Linked DNA regions of Homo sapiens: region 1 is linked to region 2. Evidence: promoter capture Hi-C in 16 types of primary human blood cells and fetal thymus (Javierre and others, 2016). All regions are on one chromosome and are shown on one strand. Each heading gives the region's core, a stretch centred on a gene start or on the middle of the fragment in contact. The rest is flanking DNA. Distances are from core to core; before and after follow the strand shown.

Region 1 (3,894 bases), core at 170-2,669, 350 kb before region 2:
CTTGGGCAAGTTAGTTAACCTTTCTAAGTCCTGGCTTGTTCATCTTCAACATGGACATAGCAGGTTTGCTGTGAGGACTAAATGAGCTCATACACAAATAGTTTTAGCTCAGTACCTGGTACATATGAACATTTAAGAAACATGTCCTTCTCGTGATTAGATGTGACACTCTGACCATTTTAGAAGCAATTACGGTTCAGCTATCATATCCCAACATCTTGTGATAACCATTTTCATTTTTTGCTTCTAGCTCTTACTATTCTTTTCATCACAATATTTTAGGGTGGAGGTATTTGGGGGAGGAGGTAAGCAGTTATATACATCCCATTTTCCCACTGTTGTTCAAAGCAAGGTGAAAAGCCAGGGAAATAAACACATGCACTGAAGAGAAATTCAGTCTTTAGGATATGATGTGATAGGTGTATGGAATATAAACAAATCATATAATTTCAACCTCTCACATATAGGGCATCAAATCATAGGTAGGTCTTATTTTAAAAGAAAAGCCAAGCAGCATTAAAGAGGATAGAGGGAACCCATATGGGCCTATTGCTAGCTCAGTATTGGTGACTGTGAAACAGGGATGGGTGAGCTAGATTACGGGGGTGTTTCATGGGGTCTGACTTCCAACAGGTGGCTAGCTTTAGTCATGTTCAGATGCAAAACCGTAATGAGTTTGAGTATGCAAGTCCCAGGGATTCTGTTGAAGGCCATCTTTTCTCGGCCATCAAGGGAGACAATTTTCTAGGTTTAAGCCTCCCTGGCAAGTTAGCAAGCAGGGAACTGCCTGCCCTAGCTTGCACCTGTCCCCTGAAGGGGATTCTGGCCTGACGGTGAAGACCCACCATCCCTTCCAGACAGCCCATTCTGCCGCTGGGGCACCTCCCGACAAACGGGGGAAGCCCACTAGGAAGTGGTCACGACCAACCAAGCCACAAATCCTCAGGGTGTGGGATTTCCACCTCTATACCACGTCTGAAAACCGAAAATAGGCGCCCGCTTGCCATACTGCAATGGGATTCCCCCCAGCAGCAACCCCCCCCTCCAGCTTGCATGTTTTATTAATAAATGCAAGATGGCACACGGAGGCAAAGAATGGGAGGTAAGGCATCTGCAGCTGGACCCGAACCAGGGCAGTTTGCAAAAATAAATAAGAAGCATGTGACAAGAAGCAGGTCTCCAGGCTGGAGCTGAAGCCCTGGGCTGCCCCACGCACCCTCGCCTGGCTCCCCCGGCCAGGGGGATGAAGGTCAGCGGCAAGATCCCAGCCCTTCCGAGCACGCATCCTGCAAACCTTGACCGGTCCCCCCACCCCCCGCCCCGACCACAAGACTCGGGCAGTGAGGCAGGGGAAGCTCTGGCCGCGGCCGGCTGCGAGGACACATACCTGCTGCCCGGGCTCGGGATTCGCTCGGCTCTGCAGCGGCGCCGGCCGCGGCTCGCGCTCCCGGGGCTCCCCTCTCCGCCCCCCCGCCCCCTCGCGGCCCCGCCGCTCCCTCCGCCCCTCCGCCCACCGCGCTCGGGGGCGCGCGCGAGGCCTCGCGCCGGCGGCTTGGCCGAGCCCGCGCCTGCGCCCTCGCCTCCCGCCGGCCGCGCGCGCGCGCCCCCGAGGCTGCGGAACGGCGGCGCGGCTGTCTAGGAAACCGCGGCGTCGGCTGGCAGGGGCTGGCGGCCTGAGCTGGGCAGGGGGCGGAGGCGGGGGCTCGGCTGTCTCCGGGGCTGCCACGCAGAGCGGGCTTCGTGGCGTGGGTGAGGGGGTCGCGGGGCAGGGTCGGGGCCTGAGTGCGAGCGTGTGGAGAGGCGAGGGGGCCGCGAAGGGTGGGTTTGACGGGGACGCAGGCGGGGCGCAGAAGCAACAAGTGCGGAGGCCGAGGGCGTCGCTCGGGGAAGCGGAGGACCCCCGCGGGATTTCGTACAGCTGAGAATGGGAACCTCCCGTCGCTTTGGCGCAGCGCTTTGCAGTTTCCAGAGCTCTTTCCCAGTTGCTCCGTTTCATCCGCGCGGGGCGCCCGGTGAGGGAGCGGATGGCACGCAGTGCCCGCTGCGCTTGGAGGCCACCGAGGGGAAAACACCTCTTTCTGTGTGGCCGGAGTCATAGCACGGTCAGAGTGCCTTGACTCTCAGTTGGCTGCCTGGGAGAAAAATACCTGTCAGTACATTCATTTGATGGCCTCAGCTCAGGACCCTTGTAGGACCGTGTTTCTCCTCTTTTTCCGTTTTTCGTTATCTGACTCTTAAAAAGGCTTTTTACACGTCCCCATCTCCTTTCCCCGTGAAATCCCAGTACCGCAGATACACTGTCGACCTGCTTATGTGCTGTATGTGTTATCCGTGCTTGATGCATAAAAAGTAACATTGCGCCCCTTGGAGGCAGCATCGCCCCGGTGGAGAAGCCTGTCCTAGGGCCATGATTGCCAGTTACCGGGTGGGTTAAACGGAACCACTGAGCAATCTGGATGCACCCACAGATATTCTCTGTGGTTAAAAAAAAAGTCCTCACCCATAATGGGTACTACTCTAATTAATGTTTGCAAGGGCTGCTGTGAATACGGCCATTTAAGCAGCTTCTGGATTCATAGTAGCTTATTATCGTTTGTCTTCTCCACCAATTCTTGCTAAAAATATAGCCATTTTCCTATAGGGTGTTGCGATTTTTATCTTAAAATATTTGAAAAGATGGGAAACCCTTGTTTCTAGGACACGGAGTTTCAGAATGGCTTTTGGCTCTGCAGATAGGTTTGATTTCTGATTCTTGTACCTCTTCTAAAGTGTTTTTATTTGATTAGGTCCAGTTGGCCTCCCAGGAATGTCCTTTGTCTTTTCTTCCTGCCGTAGCTTTTTTAGTATGGATAAAATGAAAATGGTAGAGTTGAAGGACTTCAAAACCACCTCTTGGAATTGCCCCACGGTCTTGGACTACCTTCCCTGGATTATACGGGAATATCTATACAGGGAGTATCTACTTTTGGCAAACTGAGAAAAAAATGTAAAATTTCTTCAGATCCTCCTTCGCCTTTCAGCATTTCCTACTCATCTCTAATCTCTAATGGTGGAATTTCAGAGGAAGAAACACTTGGAGATGATACTTGTGGAAGCTACCTGGGTTGCCAAAGGATTTTTCTACATTTCTAGACGGAAGAAATGTGGACTAGAATAGAGAAAGTGGAGATGGGTTAAGAAAAATTAATGGAGGATGCACGGGAGGGGAGCTATAGTTTTCTGACAGTCAGTGACAGCATTTTAACTAGGTACACTTTCTTTAGAAAAAGCTTTGGCATAGCTTGCCCAGATTGTTATCCACTCCATTTTCCACCTTAGTAGAACTCTACTTAAGATTTGATTGAAACTATTGAGAAGCATCCAGTTATAACGCTAATTAACTCTCAGAGTACGACAAGTATTTTGAAACTTGCTGAGAGAAATTTGAAGACCACTTCAAATTTCTACCAGGAATCTTTGTATCCTAATAAAATTTTTTTGAATTCGGGTTCATGCGACTTCAAGGGAACATTTTTTTCTACAATGGCTATTTATAGTATAATAGCCATTGTAGAAAATATTTATATTTATAAATATTTATATTATGTATTTATAATATAATAGCCATTGTATTGAAAATTACATGCTAATAAAGTTTACGTGTGTCTTAAGTGTTCTGGGTTTTGTCCTTTTCTGAGTAATCCGAGTTAATGGAAATTGTAGGTGCAACCATTTCATGTTGTAGTGTGAAGTCAAAAATCCCAAAACATGTATAATTTGTCAACTCTATGCTGCCCCCTGGTGATGTCTTACTTCACAGCACCTCCCCAAACTAAAATCTCCCTTCGATAAATTTTTTAGGGTATTGAAAACTTAAGTGTGGACGAGATGCCATTCTGCATTCTTCAAACTGGG
Region 2 (3,882 bases), core at 993-3,492:
GCAAAAAGCCTTCTGTCTTATTTTTTCATTCCTGAAAAGAAAGCTCTTTTCCTCCAAACACAGTCTTCCAAGCAGCACCCCCACCCCCAGCCCCATAGCTTGTCAGTAATTAGCCCCTAATGAGGACCAGGTGTCCTACCGACTTGAGGAGAAGGAAAAACAAGGGACAGCCGGGCGCGGTGGCTCACACCTGTAATCCCAGCACTTTGGGAGGCTGAGGCGGGCAGATCACGAGGTCAGGAGTTCAAGACCAGCCTGGTCAACATGGTGAAACCCCATCTCTACTAAAAATACAAAAATTAGCCAGGCATGGTGGTGCACACCTGCAATCCCAGCTACTCAGGAGGCTGAGGCAGGAGAATCGCTTGAACCCGGGAGGCAGAGGTTGCAGTGAGCCGAGATCGCGCCATTACACTCCAGCCTGGGCAACAGAGCGAGACTCTGTCTCAAAAAAAAAAAAAAAAAAAACAAGGGACAAATTGTGGAATCAATGCCTTTACCGCCACTGAGGCCAGCCTAGCACAGCCTCCATCCCAGGCCTCCTAGGGCACCTGGATGGAAGCTCTTAGGTTTGCCAAAATCCCTACAGAACAGCAGCAATTGGTTTCTTAGTCAACTACAGCAGGCATTTATTGTACACCTACTGTATGCAGCAGCCTCTGGAGGAGAAAGTTCAAGCTTTACAACAAGGGAGGTGATATGTGTAAAGCTGTATGTAAACCATGAATCACAGGGAATGTGCAGGATGACAGAGACGGAGGAGAAAGGATAAGCATTTATTGAGCACCTACCGTATGCCAGGCCCTGGGCTAGGGACTTGAGGTACATTAAAGCATTTAATCCTCATTAACCCAATTTTACAAATGAGGAAACTGCCACAGAGAGGTGAGGGGACTTGTTCAAGGTTTGACAACCAAGTAAGGGAGCTGGGATTTGAACCCAGGTCTCTCTGGTTTCAAGACCAATACTCATAACCCCCACATGGACCAGGCACCATCACACCTGAGCACTGCACTTAGGGTCAAAGACCTGGCCCCACATCTCAGCAGCTATGTAGACTAGCTCCAGTCCCTTAATCTCTCTCAGCCTCAGTTTCTTCATCTGCAAAACAGGTCTCAGTTTCGTTGCAAAGTATGAAGTGCTGGGCTGTTACTGGTCAAAGGGAAGAGCTGGGAAGAGGGTGCAAGGTGGGGTTGGGCTGGAGATGGGCTGGAGCAGATAGATGGAGGGACCTGAATGGAGGAAGTAAACCAAGGCCCGGTAACATTGGGACTGGACAGAGAACACGCAGATCCTCTAGGCACCGGAAGCTAAGTAACATTGCCCTTTCTCCTCCTGTTTGGGACTAGGCTGATGTTGCTGCCTGGAAGGGAGCCAGCAGAAGGGCCCCAGCCTGAAGCTGTTAGGTAGAAGCCAAATCCAGGGCCAGATTTCCAGGAGGCAGCCTCGGGAAGTTGAAACACCCGGATTCAGGGGTCAGGAGGCCTGGGCTTCTGGCACCAAACGGCCAGGGACCTACTTTCCACCTGGAGTCTTGTAAGAGCCACTTTCAGCTTGAGCTGCACTTTCGTCCTCCATGAAATGGGGGAGGGGATGCTCCTCACCCACCTTGCAAGGTTATTTTGAGGCAAATGTCATGGCGGGACTGAGAATTCTTCTGCCCTGCGAGGAAATCCAGACATCTCTCCCTTACAGACAGGGAGACTGAGGTGAGGCCCTTCCAGGCAGAGAAGGTCACTGTTGCAGCCATGGGCAGTGCCCCACAGGACCTCGGGTGGTGCCTCTGGAGTCTGGAGAAGTTCCTAGGGGACCTCCGAGGCAAAGCAGCCCAAAAGCCGCCTGTGAGGGTGGCTGGTGTCTGTCCTTCCTCCTAAGGCTGGAGTGTGCCTGTGGAGGGGTCTCCTGAACTCCCGCAAAGGCAGAAAGGAGGGAAGTAGGGGCTGGGACAGTTCATGCCTCCTCCCTGAGGGGGTCTCCCGGGCTCGGCTCTTGGGGCCAGAGTTCAGGGTGTCTGGGCCTCTCTATGACTTTGTTCTAAGTCTTTAGGGTGGGGCTGGGGTCTGGCCCAGCTGCAAGGGCCCCCTCACCCCTGCCCCAGAGAGGAACAGCCCCGCACGGGCCCTTTAAGAAGGTTGAGGGTGGGGGCAGGTGGGGGAGTCCAAGCCTGAAACCCGAGCGGGCGCGCGGGTCTGCGCCTGCCCCGCCCCCGGAGTTAAGTGCGCGGACACCCGGAGCCGGCCCGCGCCCAGGAGCAGAGCCGCGCTCGCTCCACTCAGCTCCCAGCTCCCAGGACTCCGCTGGCTCCTCGCAAGTCCTGCCGCCCAGCCCGCCGGGATGCAGTCCGGGCCGCGGCCCCCACTTCCAGCCCCCGGCCTGGCCTTGGCTTTGACCCTGACTATGTTGGCCAGACTTGCATCCGCGGGTGAGTGAGGGGCCTGAGACCCCGACCCAGCCTGGCGGAACTAGAGGGGTTCCTCCGGGAGGGAAAAGGGACAGGAGGAGCCAGAAGTGGCCCCCAGATCGGGAGTCAAGCAGGCTGCGCTTCTCCCACCACTAGCTGGGGTCGCCAGGGGTTCAATCCTGGGGCGGACACGGGACCCCGCTATCTCAGGTTATGGGGTTTCTAGCTAGCCAAGGCTGTCCAGTTAGGGGCGGGAGCAGGCGCCCCAGGCATGGATTGCCTAGGGCGTGGCTTTGCCCGTTTGGATTGTCTGAGACACCAGTGGGGCCACCCCAATGCTGGCCGAGCTTTGTTTGCCAGGCAAGTTTGGGGTGAGTATGTTGGGGTCCAAAGGGACCCGGCGACAGTGAGAAGTGGGTCCTCCAGCTTCAGATGCCCTGGGCCAGGAATGGGGAGTGCTACAAGGTGGGAAACGAGGAATGAGCCACCCTGCCCTCCCCTGTGAGGAGCACCCCCACACCCCTCCAGCTGCCCCCCAGCTCTGCCCCTTCTTTCCTCCCCTTGCTTCCTTGCAGATCCGTCTATCTGCCACCTCCCCTCTTCATTCTCTCCTCTCCCTCCTCCTGTTGGTGACAGGCAGGACCCCCCACCCACTACCCACTCTCAGCCTCCTAGAGGGAGAGCTGGTGCCCCTCAGCGGGGCTTGTCCTACAGATAGCTCTGGACCACCCCCTGCCACACCTCCTCATCCCAGCACTGATGCCTGACCCAGCAGAGGCTGAATGGAAGTTCGCTTTCCGAGAAGTGCTGGGATATATCCCCTCTCTGTCCCGATGCCAGAAACCCCAACATGACAGCATTCTTCCTTCAGCGAAGGCAGCTCTAGTTATGCCATAAGAACTGTGGCCTTAGGGCCCATCCATCATCACTACCCACGTGTGATTCAGTGCTTCAGCTACACCTTCGAGATCATTCCCAAGAGCAACATGGAGCAAAGGCAGGGCCTGAGCCTCCTTCACAAGGGCCCAGGCCACACCCTTCTCTCCTTCAGATGGAGAAGCCAGCTCTAAAAGAGGGCATCACATGGTTCCCAGAAGGGAAGTGAGTCAAGGGAGGACCCCCGCGGGGTGAATCAGGGCTGGATCTCCAGGCTCCCTGTTCCTGCAGGGACCAGATCCCCTAAGATCTCAGGGCCTGAGGGATGGGCTGGGCCGCCAGGGAGATGGGAAGGGAGCATCCAAGGTGACCAGGGTGGTCAGCTCATTCAGGCCCCAGCCTCCAGCCAAGGAGGGATTCCAGTACCCCCACCTCCTTGGGCTTCAACTGAGAGCCATTCTCAAATACCTTCTTAGCCCTGACAGCATGCAGGCATGGTGCTAGGCTCGCAGGGGCACGGGAAATTGAGAGGCTGAACTGAGACTCATTCAGGAGGCAGAAAGGCAAATTAAATCTCAAACAGCAAAAATCTGGATGAAAAGTAC

What was found. Contacts are between HindIII fragments. The CHiCAGO score rates a contact against its expected background, and 5 or more counts as called.
Region 1: a contact is called between the fragment with the promoter of TMEM266 here and the fragment with the promoter of CSPG4 in region 2, in 2 of 17 cell types (M0 macrophages and M1 macrophages). The highest score is 5.9, in M0 macrophages.

What each region holds. Positions count from the first base shown.
Region 1 is chr15:76,057,510-76,061,403 of GRCh38, reverse strand. TMEM266 (transmembrane protein 266) reads right to left here and starts at 1,419. Exons shown (of 11, transcript NM_152335.5): 1 at 1,388-1,419. It also overlaps a transcript of NRG4 not described here. RefSeq lists a silencer at 2,377-2,426. The HindIII fragment of the contact is 3,394 bases long and covers 1-3,271 here.
Region 2 is chr15:75,711,208-75,715,089 of GRCh38, reverse strand. CSPG4 (chondroitin sulfate proteoglycan 4) reads left to right here and starts at 2,242. Exons shown (of 10, transcript NM_001897.5): 1 at 2,242-2,422. The coding sequence starts at 2,335. The HindIII fragment of the contact is 21,900 bases long and covers 681-3,882 here.